Linked DNA regions of Homo sapiens: regions 1, 2, 3 and 5 are each linked to region 4. Evidence: promoter capture Hi-C in 16 types of primary human blood cells and fetal thymus (Javierre and others, 2016). All regions are on one chromosome and are shown on one strand. Each heading gives the region's core, a stretch centred on a gene start or on the middle of the fragment in contact. The rest is flanking DNA. Distances are from core to core; before and after follow the strand shown. Region 1 overlaps FPGT-TNNI3K (FPGT-TNNI3K readthrough). Region 2 holds the start of SERBP1 (SERPINE1 mRNA binding protein 1). Region 3 overlaps GADD45A (growth arrest and DNA damage inducible alpha). Region 4 holds the start of ZRANB2 (zinc finger RANBP2-type containing 2). Region 5 overlaps LRRIQ3 (leucine rich repeats and IQ motif containing 3).

Region 1 (3,479 bases), core at 50-2,549, 3.1 Mb before region 4:
AAATTAAGATTGTCACAAAATTTAGTCACTTCTTATCAAAAACACACTTCTCCTCTATCATCATGTACACTGCATTATTCAGGGATTAAATTTAGGAGTGACTTACTTTTTTTTTTTTTGCCTAGATCCTTTTATTAAAACACATACTTAGGTTAGAATCATTCCTAATTCATCTTTTTTTATCCACATTTCGACACCCCAGAAAACAGAATGTGCCTTACAAATGATAGTATAATAGCTATTAGCCAGGCAGCAATAGTCATGGAGTTGTTACTTGCTCACATGTGAACTTGGTCATATCTGCGTATATGACTGTCACTTCAGTTGAATTAGGTACATTATTGGTGGTACGTTTGTGCTACTACACACCAAGCAATACATCTCAAAGCAAGAGACATTGATAAGTCCTTTGAACAGAACCATTTCAAAGCAACCAGAATCCATGCATTGTACAGGATTATGATTAAAATTCAGATTAGGTTAAAATACAGTATTGAGCACTTAATAAACATATAACATCCTCTGAACGCTCTGTAAGTAGATAAATGTTAAACAACAGCTACCATATATTTTCTTTAAAAAGAATCTTGAAAAAGAAAAAACAAACACACAAATACCACAATTGAGGGCTTCAGACAGGTCACTTCTGGTTTACCAAACAATTAATTTTCATATTGACATGTTAATATGACGTCAATTTGTGAGAAATCTCTTTCTGACTTTGAATAGAATCACAGGTCCGATCTTCTAAGGACCTGTGATTAAACTGAAAGAAAAGTGAAACTGAGTTTTGCCAAATAGAAGGGTATCAAATCTTGCAGGAGTGTGGGTCTGTAGCTGGGTAAAAAAAATCCAGACATAAGTGTGGTAGAGCACTCAGGAAATGCAGCCTTACCAATAATTCTGAAAGCAGAGAAGATGGTACTAGGTGGACATATGCATATCAATAGCTCTGAAAGTGCTGAAGAGTTTGAATGTGAAGCTGTAGAAATTTCTTGATGATATCTCAATATTTTATTTTTTTGTTATTTTATATGTATATGCAAGAGGGTTAAATAAAAATCTGTATTTAAAAACATCTAAAAGAGCTCTCCAATAAATATGAAAATTTCAAGTAACAAAAAAAGCAGTGTCATGTTTTATTGTGTTTTTCTTAATGGAACATAAAATAATGGTGATTCTTATAACTGATGGCACTTCAGATTTGGTAAAACTACAATTTTGAACATTTAATGAATGACAAAGACATAACATCCTCTGAAAAATCTGCAAGTAAATCAATCATTTTTAAACAATAGCTACCATATATTTGTATCTTCTCCTTGGGAAAAACTTTGGAAAAAAAAACACGCACATAAGTATCATAACTGAGGGTTGTGGACAAGTTACTTCTAGTTTACCAATTTTTATATTGACATAAAGTAGCACAGACTAGTTATTTCATTTAAAAAAACACACTGACAAATCTTTTCTCTATTACACTTATAAGACTTTTCACTTATATGCTTATACCAATATAGAAACACATAACTTGAGATTCTAGCCAATTTTTATTTTCTCGAAACTGTTTATCACCTGTGTATTATCTCAGTTTTTCCATTTTCCTGCCTGCTTCTTGATGTCTGCATTTGGGCCAATTATTGTTTCTCAGCATCACCAGCATGTGGACAAAAAATAAGATGAAAACTAAAGTCAGTTCATCTGGTAATTGAAGTTTTGTTAGAAGGACTGATAGGAGATAATGCAAGTAATGTCTATAGTGAAATTATATGATTATTGATGAATCTCAATTATTACTACCACTTTCCCCACAGATAACTGAGTTTTGTGTGCATATGTGTGTTTTCCTATGGAATGGAACATAAAGGAAAATTTTAAAGATATACAAACACATGTTCAAGTGTATAATACATATGTACTTTTAGTTTCATTTTGATAAAATTAATGAGATACAAATTTTATCATCAATTTCAGAGGTCTTTGTATCTAGTTCTTTATCAACGAAAATAATCACAATATATTGGGCACTGAGTGAATTTGTCAGCTATGGATTCGTTTCTGAAAAAGTATTTCTACAGTATTCCTACACTACTCTGAAGACCCTACAGTATGCCATTTTTATTATTAAAAATAGAATTACAGTTGAGGAGAGAAGTGCCAGTGAATACTTAGAACTTCACTGGACCAAAAGCCTCAAAAAAGATGGAAAAATTCCAAAGGTATGCTTAGAAAATTACCTTTAAAACTAATTATGTGAAAAAACAATGCTCCACAAATCAATCATTATTAAAAACAAAAATACTGATACACATCCAAAATAGTATCTCTTTTCTCAACTTAGTCTTGGAATATTTTTCATCAAAATGACTTATATGTACTTTTGCACTATTAATATTATGCTACAACAATTATGTTAATACAGTTTTCATTAACTGAGTTCAGTGAAACAGCCTACAAAAAATACCTATCTCTGGAATGTTACTCAAAAAGGCAAAGTGTACAATATTTAAAATATCTCTACATCAAACTGCTTTTTAAACTGATTTCTAGAAAAATTTGTTCCCTGTAAGTTATCATATCTTCTACATCTTTGTAGATAAGCATTTCTTCAATGGACAGCAACTTATAGCTATTCAGGCTGAATGCTGACTTGTTCTTAACAGCATTTAACATCTTTAGGGATGTTATAACTGAGTCACTCAAAGAAGAACAAACTGGGAAAATGCGTGCAGTCCACAAACTCAGACATGTCTTGTTACCAGAGAACAGTTCCTCTGTAACTTTAAGATTCCAAACATCTAAGCATGACAGGAAACAGACTCCAAAGAATTGAAGTAACTTTATATCTGACAATGTTTTCACACTCTTTTTCAAGTTGTCTTGCACTCCAAATGCCATAGTTGCATACTTTAAGCATCTATTCATCTTTAAGCTTAAGGAACATACAAAAGAATGTGCGGGGAGGGCAGCTTTTGTTAGGATGTAAGAACCACTAATAATGCAGTTTTCCCCAACTGAAACATCAGGCCCCAATCTGGAATACTCCACAACTGAGCCAGGTGCCACAGAACATCTTGAATCCAGTATGCTTTGAATGATACAGGATGTTTTGCCAGAGCATTCTGGTATATCTGGAAAGATACTAAAAGTTATGGACTGTAAGCCGAGCTCTGACTTTAAACTGTTATCTGAGGTAAAGTAAAACAAATATTCTTCGGTTGTTCCAATGTGATAAAATTTGGAGTTATTAAGAACAACAACATTTAGTGATGTTCCTTTAAGAAGATGAAATATTCTCTGCCTCATTTCTACCAACTCTGACTCTTCTTTAATGACATTTGATGTGTTTCTGGTGTACTCCACAGTTGCTCCAGGTCCCAAAGCCTGCAGAAAGTCACCATAGGCATCTATTTCACAGCTCAGTGTGCCTATTTTTTCATAAAAAGCAAGTAACATTTTTGCTGATTTATGATCCATAT
Region 2 (3,520 bases), core at 839-3,338, 3.7 Mb after region 4:
GGTTACGAAGCTCTGTTTGAGCAAACCAGAAATCTGTAATGGAGGAGAAAAATGAATAACAACAGGCCTGCCCCACCCCCCAGATTGTGGCAGGAGTAGTTAACTTACTTAAGCTCTTTGTTTTCATTTTCCTAATCTTAAAACAGGAGCAATAACTTTTTTTTTGCGGGGGGGAGGTATGGAGTAATAACTTTCTTATAGAGTTGATGTAAGGTTTAAAGGAGATCACGTATGTAAAGTGCACCAAGCACACACTAAAACATCACGTTTTAGTATGAATATTGTTACTGTGGCCGTGGCCAGAAAGAGTTAAGAAGAGGAGCTTTCACAGATGTCTCAAAGATGCAGGCAGTCTCAGAGACGCAACAGCCCGTGAAGAGAGAAAATCTGTCAAAATGTGGAGATCTTCTACATTGCACTTGAGCTATTTCAAAAAGGTGGGAAGAGTATGGTCAAAAGCTCCTTGTCTTGGTAGGTGCCACAGAACCAGAGCCTGTGGAAGGGGGGATGAGATAGGGGGTGTGTTTGAGGTTGGGCGTTGTGGGCAGGGTGCAGGACTGAGGCAGCAGGGAAATAAGTGAGGAATAGGGGAGGATTGAGAAACAAGAAAACCAGGAGGCTTGCTGCCCCATGTATGTAATATGACTCGTGTCTTCTATTTTCCCTGCTAAGGAATTGATTTAAAATCTGCTCGGAAATTGATGATTACATTCCGCCATGTTACATATCCTGACACGCAACAATGTTTAAATTATATCGGAAATTTAAAAATTGGACTGCTTTCTATCAGGGCAGTCTGAATTAAAGAGCTGATGTCCAGTCTCCTAGTGGAGATAGAATACTGGGCTAATGCCTGTCACTAGCACTTACAGAGGTGTGAATTTGGTAAATCATTTCATCTCTGAAGTGGTTTCAACATTTGTGAAAAGAGGCAAACTATTTGCCTAACAAAATGTTGAGTTCAAGGTTATTCATAGCTCCTACCAAATAAGCGATGCATTTGCTACTTTGTGTTAATGGAAAAGGACTTAAAAATTATGATATACTTAAACCCGGTGCTACCAAATGTGCTTAAATACGCATTCAAATTGTATTCTTTTAATGAATTTTAATATTCTCAACTAGTATCAATGCTTTGTCATTATTAAGTGTTGACTTCAATATTTCCCTCCCCTCACCGCAACTCCTAGCACACATGCACTCGAAATGTTCTCAAATGATATGTATTGAGCGCATGTGACTAACAACACAGCCACCTAAGCCCTGACTTGCCGGACACGAACGGACGATTAATTGGAATAATTGTAACAGGGTTTCTATAAACAGTGCTTCCTGGAGGCTTGCCCCGCGTCTAGCGCTGCACCGTCAGGAGTTAACCACTCCTACGACACCCGCCGCCACACGGTGAGAAGCCCGGGAAAGACGCGCCACGCTCCCATGTGATAGTTTCACTTGTCTTTTTGGTTAGTTCTGCTACCCTAGTTCATGTCCCCGCGAGAGGAAACGTATTCCCCCTCACATTAGACAGAAGAGCCTCGATTCACCGTGGAGGCTGACGGAGGGCCACTCCAGCAACTGAGCAGCTCGGACTTGGCACAGGCAGGGTCCAGCCTACCCGCGGCCGGCGCGGCGCCTCAGCAACACCCCCTCCCCCGGAAGTTTGTGCGTCTCAGATGTAAGGTCTGGGAGTCACCTTGACCCCCCTGGAGCGGTGGGGAAAGTTAGCCCTGAGCCCGAGGGGGCGTGAGTGAAACCAAAGAGCACTTTCGCGAGTCAGTTACGCCGTCACGGTTTTTTGGTTTCAAGGTAGCTGAAGACCTAGAGAGTTTAAGGGTGGCCAGAGCAGGTGGCAGGACTCCGCCCACCACCACGCTTCCCTTCCTTCAGCCCGCACGCTTCACTCCCCTCATGGGGTCTCGCCTCTCAGGCGCGCGCGAAGAGTTGTCGCGCGGTGCGTCCTGGGAATTGTAGTCCCGACGCGGAGAGTCGCCTCAGGAGAAATGACTCTGGCCTACATACCCCACAGTGCCTTGCGGCGCAGGCCGCTCCCGGATGTGTGCCTGGCGCCGGAAGAGAAGACGGCCCCCCTCTCTCGGCCCGGCCATCTTGTGGGAAGAGCTGAAGCAGGCGCTCTTGGCTCGGCGCGGCCCGCTGCAATCCGTGGAGGAACGCGCCGCCGAGCCACCATCATGCCTGGGCACTTACAGGAAGGCTTCGGCTGCGTGGTCACCAACCGATTCGACCAGTTATTTGACGACGAATCGGACCCCTTCGAGGTGCTGAAGGCAGCAGAGAACAAGAAAAAAGAAGCCGGCGGGGGCGGCGTTGGGGGCCCTGGGGCCAAGAGCGCAGCTCAGGCCGCGGCCCAGACCAACTCCAACGCGGCAGGCAAACAGCTGCGCAAGGAGTCCCAGAAAGACCGCAAGAACCCGCTGCCCCCCAGCGTTGGCGTGGTTGACAAGAAAGAGGAGACGCAGCCGCCCGTGGCGCTTAAGAAAGAAGGTAAAGCAGGGGCAGAATGTGGGGGAGACTGGGATGGAGGGAAGGAGCGAGGGGGCTGCCGGCTGCCACTTGTTTCTGGAGCTCCGAGGGTCCGCGGGAGACTTTGCCGCCTATATCCTCACGTTTCTTCACGCGACAAAAGTCCGGTCCTGCGAAGGTGCCAGGAGCGTGGTAGCCCCAAGTTCAAGCCACCGCCGGCGAGGTTCTCGGAGCCATCCCCTTCCCGCCTCAGGTTGTGAGCAGAGGAGCGTGGTCGGAGATGAGCTGCTCCTCGAGCGCGCTCGAGGTCCTGGGAGGCTGTTGCCTTCCCGCCGGATTCCTTGGCGGGTGAGCGCATGGACTGAGGTGCGGGGAAGCCGGCCCCTCACCGAAGCTTTCCGTAGTTACGGAGGAGCTTGGGGGTCCATCGCTGCTTACTGCGCAGAGCTGCTCCTTTGAGGTGCTGTTGTTTCAGGCTCCTGTCCTGCCGTCTTGTCCCACGACGGCGCGGAGTATCCCCGCTGAAAAGCAGGGGGTCGTTCCAGGCCATCAGACGTGTGGAGTAAGCTGCAGGTTGGGGTGCCGCATGTCCTTTATTTGTTTCTCTTCCACCTCTCAACTGTTAGGACTTTCTCATAACTTGCTGGGGTGAGTTGAGCCGTTGGGAAATGGAGGAGTTTGGCCACACTCGATTAACCAGGAGCGGGAATTATGAATGAAGACTGGTGATTGCAGGACATCCCGAGGAACGTCCTCGAGTCACGATCCTCTCTCTCGACTCCCCAAACTGAATCTTTCACGTGGTGGGGTCTGGGCCTCGTGGGTGAAGTGAGTGCAGAGGCTGTCACAGCGTTAGTCGCAGCAGAGCTCTTTAGAGTTCGCAGTTTTTTTTTTCCACCACATGTGCGTGAAGCATGGTCAGAGTTTCACTGGCGGTTAATAGTTGTTTCTAGGGCACTGTGAGTTTCACAGGATTGTCTTGATTTTTGCATTCGCTTTACCAGTTTGTTGCGGATGAAAAAAAAGAGCAAGCAGTTTG
Region 3 (3,479 bases), core at 49-2,548, 3.4 Mb after region 4:
ACCTTTGTGGCCTTGGGACCTAACATAGTGCCAGGAAAATGATAGGCATTCAATAAGCAGCATGATTGAAATGAACAAGCTTATCTTTTTTTTAATGTGCTTAATGATTTCCTTATAGATTGTCAACTTAAGGAGAAATGCTCTAATAGGCTACATCTTTGTATTCTTCATAGCACCTAGCAAAATTATATTCAATATTCAATCAATCGATCACATTTTTGTGCTGTTTGCAAAATACGATGCTAGCTTATGAACAAAGAGTTTACAACCTTTTTCTCCATTCCATTCCTATATGCCTTCTGGAGATTTCTATCCTTTGAACTTCCAGAACAGTTCTCTGGGCCTTTCTTACGTTGCTGGTAATTTTCTGTTTTGTATTTATGTAGTGATACGAAGTCCTTGAGGCCAGAGTGTGTGTCTGATTTTTTTTTTTTTTTTTTTTGGTAGACTTCAATATAGCCAGCATAGTCCCTTGTCCACAGTAAGCACTCACTTAATATTTCTTGGTGGTTTTCATGAATACGACCTTTTCACAGAGGTTCTTATGTTTACCAAAGTATTGTTAAAAAGAAAAAAAGTATTCACTTCTTTGAGGGATACTTACTTGGTGTCAAATCATGCCACTGAGTTTTGTTCATTTGAAGAGAACTTATCTCCCAAATTTCAGTCTTTTACCACATATCAAAGAATAAAATTCTACCTATATAAATGAAAATTAAGCAATTATTTCACAAGGGCTCCAGTAAGGCATCTCAAAACATGCTTTGGAAATATTTCAATTGACAGTATACAAATAATTCTTTCCTAAAAAATGACCCTTTTTTCTTTATTTGGGAACTAAGGTATGTATTATAGGAGATTAGCTACTTTCATGGGTCCTTTCATTATAAAAGTTTAACTTACCAAGATCCTAGGTTAAGTGTGGAAAGGAGGAAGCAATGCTATTTATGACACTGAGGTGAAGTTGCCAGTGGAAAAATTAGGTATTTTCCACTTTTCAACATTCAATACACCTTAGGTAGATGAGGGGATTTCTGTTCTTGTTGTAACGTAGCTTGCAATAAGTACATTTAATGGTTTTTAAGGCAACGACTAAAGAATATTTGCATCAATTAGAGATAGAAGCCATCCAGGTAATTTTATATTTGTTTAAAATTAACTGTTTCATGATTGGGTTTTTCAATGCTGTGTTAACTTTATGTTATGCTCAATCAGGAAAGAAAAACAAGAGTTTAAAATTTTTGAAGAAACCAAATGGCATTACAGTAATTGTTGAGATTTTCCTCAAAACAATCTGAAGAATGTATAAGTACTATTACATATCTCTAAGCATTATGAATTTAGAATAAAGATCAAAAATTCTTTTTGAAAAACATAGTTATATAGATGTACATGTCATAACACAGATCTCTCTGATGCCTTAAGTTTTCCTATTGCTATCACCTGGGTTTTAGAAACAGCCACACTCCATTGAGCACCTATCATGTGCCAGGTAGTTTGTATTCATTATTTCTAATCATTCATTTATTCAATAAATATTAATTCAGCACCTACTGCTTGCTGGCACTTGTGTCCACTACTGGGCTACAATAATGAACCAGACATTACCTGCCTTGAGGGAGGTTGCAGAGTTGTAGGAGAGGCCACAAGTCTGCAAGATAGGTAATCTTATCTCCATTTTACATGAGTAAAACAGGATGAAGAAGGACTAATCAAGGCTAGCTGCTACTGTGCTCGTTCCACTAAGCAAACCAGCTTTATCCACTGTGTGTCTCCACTTTAATTCATTCATCTCTGCAAGAGGGTTCTTACCAAATCGTTGTGAAAAAGGGCTGAAAAAAACCTTACTTCAATGGGAAGGCAAAACACCTTGCTATTTAAAACTCACTGCTCTCAATCTTTTGGTAATGTAAGAAACAAATATTAAATACCAGTTATGTTTTGGAGTGGGCACTGGATTTTAAAAAGATACAAGAAGCCTAAATAAGCCTAAAAACCCACATTTCTAGCAGATGTAGAAAAAGTCACTTGTGAAAAGATACAAGAAGCCTAAACAAGGCCTAAAACCCCACAATTCTAGCAGATGTGGGAAAAGAGAGTCATTTGCAAGGTGAAGGGCTCATGGAGCTATGTATTCATAATATATGCAGAAACTTGGAGCTTTTTGTTGCTATTAGTGGGTTTTCCCTACCCTTTCTTCTGATTGTATGTAGTCATGACTAGGATGAAAGACAGATGGCAGGGGAGCCATAAGGGGGACGGTTTGAGAAATAGGATAAGAAAATTCCTGTGGACAAAAGCAAGGCTAGGCCTTGCCTCCATAAGCATTTTTGCTTTCTTTGGTCTATGCCTACAAGATTGTTGGAGTTAATTATCAAGTGACTGTTCTAACTAAAAATGATTGTTCTACTGAAGACTTTTCTTTTGCTTTTCTTCTCTGCCATCTATTCCATCTGATAGAATTTAAGCAGACCCCTCAGAACCATAGAAATGTTCAGCTGGAAAGCACAAAGCTTTAGGAAGAGACTAGGGGCAGCAAAAAACCTTGCCTGGCCACTTCCCTGTTTGCTCTGTAAAAATGGTTCTGCAAAATGCACAACCTTGGATTCTTAGTCACTTCCTAACTGGCCTTGTCACCTACAGCTGCTCATCCCAATAATCATCTTTCACAGACCCCGGTGTTACTTTCCTAGAACACTGATCATGCCACTTCCTTCAGGGGCTCCGCTATCTGCCTGAAGTTTACAGAAGGAAGCCCAAATGCATAAGGGTAACACAGAATGCCTTCACAGCCTGGGCCTAATCCCCACCTTCCTTTTCAGCCCCGCTGCTCCCTTATCTTTCTACACCAGAGGCACACACACAATCACTCTGTTTTTACTGACCTGGTTGTGGTCTTTCAGGCCTCCACACCTTTGCACAAACTAATGCAGCTGCTAGCAATATCCCTTTGCCCTCTGTAACTAGGGAAATAAAACTCACTAAGACCAACATAAAATGATCTCTCTTCAGTAAAAACTGGTAGGTAACTTTAGTCACTCTGTCCTCTCTGCCTCCTCAACATTTTGTGTATAATCTTATTACGGCGCTAATATCATTTATCTTTAATTATTCAAATTTTGCAAGCTGAATCTCTAACCATCCCTTTTTCCTGACAACTCCAACTCCTTTAAATCACCTGCTTTCTGATTATAGACCTGGTATACAGCAAAGCGTCAGTAAAATGTGTTTAATAAAGTACAAGTTAAAAGAAACAAGAGCACACAATAAGAAATGATGCAATTATTCATACCAGTTTATTGTAGGTATTGTGTTTCAAAAAATTTATAGCATAAATAACTTTTCATGTCATAAAATAACTTAGTAGAATTTATAATAAAACTTTGAGAATTTAATATCTCATCAAAATACAATAAAATATGGTTTTCAAATATGATTAACCCTTTCGGCTTTTCTTTTACTTGAGGGCATATAAACCA
Region 4 (3,383 bases), core at 787-3,286:
GGACACAGCAAAGCCTTTGAAAACCCAGCTGACATGGAACCAGTACTCATAGAAGATGAGACCGAACTTTTGACCTGAACCAAATTGGATCGATTGCCTTCTAAAACAAAAAAAAATCAACATTCCCTAAAGGCTTTTAACAGGACTCAGTCTATGCAACATAATGTTCAAAATGTCCTAGATAAAATCCACAATTACACAGTATAAAAGAACTGGAAAAATGTGACCAACTTGCAAGGGAAAATATAATCAACACCTGCTAACTCCTAGATGACCAAAATGTTATAATACAGATTTTAAAGCAACAATCATAACTAGAGAGTAGTTGAACAATTTCTCTCCTAAACATAATCATACTTGCATAAAGACATTTCAGTCAATGATGAACCACATATACAAAGGTGGTCCCATAAGATTACAATACCATATTTTTACTGTACCTTTATATTTAGATACACAAATACCACTGCGTTACAACTGCCTACAGTATTTAGTACAATAAGATGTACTAAATGCAGGTTTGTAGTCTAGGAGCAATAGGCTATACCATATAGCCTAGGTGTGTAGTAGGCTATACCTGCTAGGCCTGTGTAAGCACATTCTATGATGTTCACACAACAGCACAATTGCCGAAAGTGGCATTTCTCAGAACATATCCCTATCATTAAGTGAGGCATGACTGTATATGCTGTATTCTAAAAAAAATTAATGCATTTATATACCAGAATCTATGCATAAGAATGCTCATACTGGTGTTGTTTGTAATACCAAGCCTGAGAAACAGAAGGAATAAACTGTCACAAAACCACAAAACGGAATAGTATCAGTATACATCAGTGCAAATAAAAGAATTACACCTATACACTTCTACATGCAACTACCTAGGATTAATTTAGAAGCATAATGAACAAAAAAAGAGTACAGAATCAACTATGCTTACACAGCTCATAAAATTAAACATACATGTATGTTAGGTTTTGAAGGGAAGGCAAGGATTAAAGAAAGAGAGGGTGGCTTAACAACAAATACAGGATTTATGTCCAGCATAAGACCTACAGAGGTGGGAGACCAGCTTAATGCCAGTGCCCGTTGCTTCTTACAGGCTGGGGTGATTTATAGGCCTGGGTGGGAGTGGTCTGGGGGGCCATGGCCTGCTTCCTGGGAACATGTTGATAAGGTGTTCCCAGGACGAGGCGGCTCTGGCCCTTGTTCCAGTGGAATGTGGTACTTTCTCCCAGCAGAGTATAAGAGGCAGCCTGTTTCTCACGCCCGAACCCCGTGGAATGTTTCACTTTGACTAAGGTCTGCAAAATGGCAGGGGGGCTTACAAAAATGGTGCAGTTTGGACTAACAACGTACATAAATTTTTAAAAAGCAAAAGAATAAATCCCAAATATGGGAAAGTGTTATCTGTGGAAGAAAGTAATGGGATGGTATCAGAAAAGACACTGGTAATTTAAACAGTGTTGACAATGTCTCAGTTTTAAAATTACCAGCTGGTTCCCATGTATAAGTTGCTTACTTATCTGTTACACCTATTTATGTATATATAAAAATAGGTTTCCAAACGACATCCCATGTGTATGAAATAACAGAATTTTTATGCCTTATTAAAATAATTTCTCTAAACACTTGAAGAGCCCGAGCCGCCTCTTACCCTAAACGAACCCCACGCCCCTGAATTGATCAGTCACTTCCGCCTCCACCTTTCCAGCTCCACCTAAGGAAGCGGAAGTACTTTACTCTTGGGTCCTCCCACCTGTAGGGGGCTCTCCGAGGCTTCTAGTGCCACGAAGGCCTCCTGCCTGGGTTGTCCTTATGGCGCCTGTGAGTTTAGTTCTAGAAAAGATATTTGTATTTTAACTTTTCCATCTAACAAACAGTAGCACAGGCATCTTAGTCTGGACAACAACGTACAAGCTGAATTCCTGGCTAGTTCCCTCATTATCAAACCCTGACACAGTAGTAGGCGCGAGTCAGGCAGTGTGGGGACAGCCCCGAGTTGCCGAAAGTCCCCGGCCCGTTTTCCTCCTGTGAAGACATAGCTGCGGGTGGCTGTGCTGGTGGCGTTCAAGATGTCGACCAAGAATTTCCGAGTCAGTGACGGGGACTGGATTTGCCCTGACAAAAAGTGAGTTCAAGAAGGGTCCTGAATTGGGACGGAGTTTGTTAGTGGAAGCTTTCCGAGGTCCGTCCGGCATTTTCCTTTTTTATGATTTTCTGTGCCTTAAGACGGGTTGAGGCGGCGAACCGCCAGTTCCCTGGCGGGAAGAAGGCTCCCAATCTCCTCACGAGAGAGGTCTTTCCGGGAGCCTTTGTTCTAGATATGTCTTCAGCGTTTCCTCGACATTACCTCCGCAAGGTAGCCTCTCTTTTTAGAGTGCGAGATGGCCTACCTTTTTGCCCCCACCCCCCTCCCCCGCCCCGGCCAGGTTTTAGCGATAGGAAACCTCTCCAGTCAGGCCAGCTTGGTGTTGGATCTCCCCCACGTGACTTTTCTCTGCAGAACTTTACTCTTGTTCACGGAAAATATTGCTTTCTCGCACTCGTCCTTTTGCCTCTTATAGTTCACCTTGTTTTGTATTTTTACTCAAACTTTTCCTCCATACTATTTTCCCCTTTTCCGGAAGCTCTACCCTCTTCGGTTTGGGAAATTCTGACATTTTCTTTGTGGATCATTTCTCCACAAGAATTGGGCTTTTCGCCTCCTTAGAGCCGAAAAGGAGGGAAGAGGCCTGTGTTTTTGCCTACTCAGCCCTTAAGATGCCTGCAGCAGAGAAGCACGTGTGTTAGTGGCTCTGCTTTTTGACATTGTTGCCAAAGCCAGTACTCGACTAGATAGTTAATCAGATTTTTTTTGAAGGGTGCACAAATAGGTGTATCTATTCGGAAATAACATGGAAAATAATTTAATGTACAACTCATGTTCACATAAAAGCCTTTTATTTGTTGTACCTAAGTTAGCCACAAATAGGTTTTGATTGTAAAAAGCAAAAACTTTGAAATAAACCTGGGTTTAGTTAAAATTCTATTACTTATTTAACTGCTAAAAAAGGAATAGAATTTTTTTTTTAATGAAAACATGAAATAACATGGATAGGGTGTGTAAACAGTGACGTGTAGCAAATTCTAATTGGTGGCTATTGATAGTAATTTGATATTAAGATGACCTGAAGGAGTAGTTCAAGCCTAACAAATGATACTGAATAGAACCAAAGTTATATGTTATGGATAGTATTGCTCTGAGTGGTAAGACATTATTGAAAACGTTCAAAAGATTTAGAACAACAACTTCTGACTTTGTTGTTACCTGTAAAATAATGTGCTTTTGTCAGTGTCTTTAATGACAGCACACCCAGAGGTAGGACTCTCAATGAGAGTTC
Region 5 (3,663 bases), core at 783-3,282, 3.1 Mb before region 4:
ATATGAGTATCTGACCTATATCATTTCTCTTCTCTCAGAACTTCTTTTAACATTTCTTACAAGGCAGGCCTACCAACAACAAATTACTTCAATATTTATCTAACAGAATTTATTTCTTTTTCACTTTTAAAGAATAATTTTGCACCATACAGTGTCCTTGATATAGTTTTTGAAGCATATATTTTATCTCGAATTGTTAATGGAACTAGGCATTCAATTAATTTTGTAGAGCTTACTGTATTAGTCTGTTTTCATGCTGCTGATAAAGACACACTCAACACTGGGTAATTTATAAAGAAAAAGAGGTTTAGTGGACTCACAGTTCCATGTGGCTGGGGAGGCCTCAGCATCATGACAGAAGGTGGAAGGCATATCTTACATGGCGGCAGACAAGAGAGAATGAGAACCAAGTGAAAGGGGTTTCCCCTTATAAATTCTAGGTCAGTGAGTTTTTTTTCTCTTAACACTTCAAATATTTCACTCCACTATCTTCTGCCTGCATGGTTTCTGATAAATCAAATGTCGTTATTATCTGTGATCCTTTATAAGTAAGATTTTTTAAAAATTCTTTGGCTTTTTCCAAGATTTTTTTTTTACCTTTGATTTTCTGAAGTTTGTATATTAATTATCTAGGTGTGAGGTTGTTTTTTTTTTATTTTCTTACATTTATCCTACATGATGTTCTCTGTTTCTTGAATCTGTGGCTTAGTGTCCGATGTTAGAGTAAATTGTCATTCATTATTGTTTTAAATACTGCTTTTATTCCTTTCTATTTTTCCTTTTTTGGCATTTTTATTACACGTATGTTACACATTTAGAAGTCCCACACTTCTGGAATGTTATGTTTTTTTTCAGTCTTTTTTTTTCTCTTTGGTTTTTAGTTTTGAATGTTTTTGTTGACATATCCTCAAAGTCAGAGATTCTTTTATCAGTCATGTCCCATCTACTAATGAGCCCTTCAAAGGTATTCTTCATTTCTGTTATAATGTTTTTGGTCTCTACCATTTCTTTTTTATTCTTTCTTAGAATATCTATCTCTCTACCTACATTATCCATTTGTTCTTGTATGTTGCCTACTTTTTCTATTAGAGCCATTAGCATATTAATCCTAGTTGTTTTCAATTCCCAGTCTGATATTTCCAACATCCCTGACATCTGTGTGTCTGTTCCTGATGAGTTTCTGTACTGCCTGTCTGTTGCTCCAATTTTGTGGTCAGCAGTTTACCCTATGACCTTACTTTGTGTAGCTAAGAAAAGTTGTTGATTTTTAGTTTGTTCAGCTTTCTAATGTGTTGTTAGGATGGAGTGACTACTCCAAGCTCCTTACATGCCATACTGGAAACTGCAGGTCCCTTGATACACTTTTTGAAGCATATATTTTATCTTGAATTGTTAATGGAACTAGGCATTCAATTAATTTTGTAGTGCTTACTGTATTAGTCTGTTTTCATGCTGCTGATAAAGACACACTCAACACCGGGTAATTTATAAAGAAAAAGAGGCTCAGTGGACTCACAGTTCCATGTGGCTGGGGAGGCCTCAGAATCGTGGTAGAAGGTGGAAGTCACATCTTACATGGCAGCAGACAAGAGAGAATGAGAACAAAGAAAAAGGGGTTTCCCCTTATAAAACCATCAGCTCTCATGAGACTTATTCACTACCACAAGAACGGTATGGAGAAAACTGCCACCATCATTCAATTATCTCCCACTGGGTCTCTCCCACAGCAAGTGGAAATTATGGGAGCTACAATTAAGATGAGATTTGGGTGGGGACACAGCCCAACCATATCATTAAGTGCCAAACACTGTTCTAAACCCTTTAGGTTGACTTATTTCGTCCTCATAAAAATTCTATGGGCTGTTATTATTATCTTCTTTTTACAGATAAGGAAACTGAGGCACAGCATACATAATTTACTTGAGATCACCAATCTCAGAACAACTTACATTTCATTTCCTTTTTCTGTACTTAGTTTATAGGGTGCTTGAAAAATAAAATGAACTTGTCGTAACCAGTAGAATGTGGCTGAGGAGACGCTTCAGTTGAACCTAAGCCTTAGGAAGTTTGGACAGGTTCTGCTTTTATGCTTTGGGAGCCCTTAAGCATGTAGAAAGTCTGGCTACCCTATTTCAGACACACATGGATAGATGACATGGAGAGGACAGGTCAACATAGAGAGGTCCTGAGACAGTATGGAAAGAAAGACTGGTTCATCTCAGCATTCCAGCTGAACCTAACCTTCCAGCAGTTCACTGGAGGAGTGAACTAACTGATGCTTCAGCCACTGTCAGTTGGAGAACTGCTTACTTCAACTGAGTCAACACACAGAATCTTCAGAGTAACAAAATGATGGTTATTTTAAGCCAATAAATTTTGGAGTGATTTGTTACACTACATAAATAATTGAAAAATAAACCTTTTTTGTTGTTTTGCAAGTGATTATTGGCTGTGGAGAATTAAAAATAAAGGAATTTACAATAGATTTCTACCGAAATGGGAGAGACTTTGTCATTTGTACTTAGAAGTCTTTTACAGGTTCCTTCCCCATAGTTTGCTGTTTCTCTGAGGAAAGGAAAAGACAGACATGTGTATGAAAGAGACATTTATTGAAACCTGACTCAGTTCTAGTTCAGGTCCTATGGAAAAATTTGAAAAACTACCTAACCATAAAACAAGTTTTCTGTTCACAGGGTACATATAATTTAGTGGAAAACAGGGCCATTAAATAATAACATATATAAATATGTAATCACTAAATTGGGGATGTGTGGATAGAATCAGAGTCTAAATAATGACTAGACAATAATTTGCCAAAGAAGGTTACACTGAGAGAGAAGTGTAACATCCTAAGATAGCAGGTTAGCACATTTCATTAACTAAGAAGCCAGGGTTCTTAATAGTTTGGATTTTTTAAATTTTTGCTTTAAGTTCAGGGATAGATGTACAGGTTTGATACATAGGTAATCTTGTTTCAGGGTAATTTGTTGTACAATTGATTTAGTCACCCAGGTGTTAAGCCTAGTGCCCATTAGTTATTTTTCTTAATCCTCTCCCTCCTCCCACTCTCCTCCCTCTAGTAGGCCCCAGTGTGTTGTTCCCCTTTATGTGTCCATGTGTTTTCATAATTTAGCTTCCACATATAAGGGAGAAAATGCAGTATTTGGTTTTCTATCCCTGCATTTTTTTGCTGAGGATAATATCCTCCAGCTTTATCCATGTTCCTGTAAAGGACATGATCTCATTCTTTTTATGGTTGTATAGTATTCCATGGTGTAAATGTACCACATTTTCTTTATCCAGTCTACCATTTATGGGCATTTAGGTTGATTCCATGTGTTTGCTATTGTGAATAGTGGTGCAGTGAACATACGTATATGTGTCTTTATAATAGAACAATTTTTATTGCTTTAGGTATATACCCAGTAATGGGATTGCTGGGTCAAATGTTGTTTCTGTTTTTAGGTCTTTGGGAAATTGCCACACTGTCTTCCACAATGGTTGAACTAATTTACACTCCCACCAACAATGTATAAGCGTTCCTTTTTCTCCACATCACCAGCATCTGTTATTTTTTGACTTTTTTTGTTGTTTTTTAATTTTTATTTCAATAGTTGTTGGGGTACAGGTGCTATTTTGTTACATGGATAGGTTCTTTAGTGA

Evidence for each region. Contacts are between HindIII fragments. The CHiCAGO score rates a contact against its expected background, and 5 or more counts as called.
Region 1: a fragment that was not itself captured here is called in contact with the fragment with the promoter of ZRANB2 in region 4 in 6 of 17 cell types (total CD8 T cells, total CD4 T cells, activated CD4 T cells and 3 more); the score reaches 11.7 in total CD8 T cells.
Region 2: a contact is called between the fragment with the promoter of SERBP1 here and the fragment with the promoter of ZRANB2 in region 4, in 6 of 17 cell types (total B cells, non-activated CD4 T cells, naive CD8 T cells and 3 more). The highest score is 11.9, in total B cells.
Region 3: a contact is called between a fragment that was not itself captured here and the fragment with the promoter of ZRANB2 in region 4, in 2 of 17 cell types (activated CD4 T cells and total B cells). The highest score is 9.4, in activated CD4 T cells.
Region 5: a fragment that was not itself captured here is called in contact with the fragment with the promoter of ZRANB2 in region 4 in 7 of 17 cell types (activated CD4 T cells, naive CD8 T cells, total CD4 T cells and 4 more); the score reaches 14.7 in activated CD4 T cells.

Annotation. Positions count from the first base shown.
Region 1 is chr1:74,204,871-74,208,349 of GRCh38, reverse strand. All of the region lies in intron 3 of FPGT-TNNI3K (FPGT-TNNI3K readthrough), which reads right to left. FPGT (fucose-1-phosphate guanylyltransferase) reads right to left here. Exons shown (of 4, transcript NM_003838.5): 4 at 1-3,479. The coding sequence ends at 2,518. Among named protein-coding and RNA genes, the nearest start is that of FPGT-TNNI3K, 8.4 kb to the right of the region's middle. The HindIII fragment of the contact is 3,271 bases long and covers 1-2,934 here.
Region 2 is chr1:67,428,970-67,432,489 of GRCh38, reverse strand. SERBP1 (SERPINE1 mRNA binding protein 1) reads left to right here and starts at 2,088. Exons shown (of 8, transcript NM_001018069.2): 1 at 2,088-2,502. The coding sequence starts at 2,190. RefSeq lists enhancers at 1,437-1,616, 1,647-1,726, 1,937-2,206, 1,644-2,279, 2,915-3,520. The HindIII fragment of the contact is 6,007 bases long and covers 1-2,877 here.
Region 3 is chr1:67,688,130-67,691,608 of GRCh38, reverse strand. GADD45A (growth arrest and DNA damage inducible alpha) reads right to left here. Exons shown (of 4, transcript NM_001924.4): 4 at 3,275-3,479. Among named protein-coding and RNA genes, the nearest start is that of GADD45A, 4.7 kb to the right of the region's middle. RefSeq lists a silencer at 1,689-1,983. The HindIII fragment of the contact is 2,434 bases long and covers 82-2,515 here.
Region 4 is chr1:71,079,688-71,083,070 of GRCh38, reverse strand. ZRANB2 (zinc finger RANBP2-type containing 2) reads left to right here and starts at 2,036. Exons shown (of 10, transcript NM_203350.3): 1 at 2,036-2,131. The coding sequence starts at 2,076. ZRANB2-DT (ZRANB2 divergent transcript) reads right to left here and starts at 1,747. Exons shown (of 4, transcript NR_046217.1): 1 at 1,658-1,747. RefSeq lists an enhancer at 1,797-2,086. The HindIII fragment of the contact is 3,322 bases long and covers 1-2,181 here.
Region 5 is chr1:74,187,679-74,191,341 of GRCh38, reverse strand. The region is part of intron 1 of LRRIQ3 (leucine rich repeats and IQ motif containing 3); the gene reads left to right. Among named protein-coding and RNA genes, the nearest start is that of LRRIQ3, 8.7 kb to the left of the region's middle. The HindIII fragment of the contact is 8,734 bases long and covers 1-3,663 here.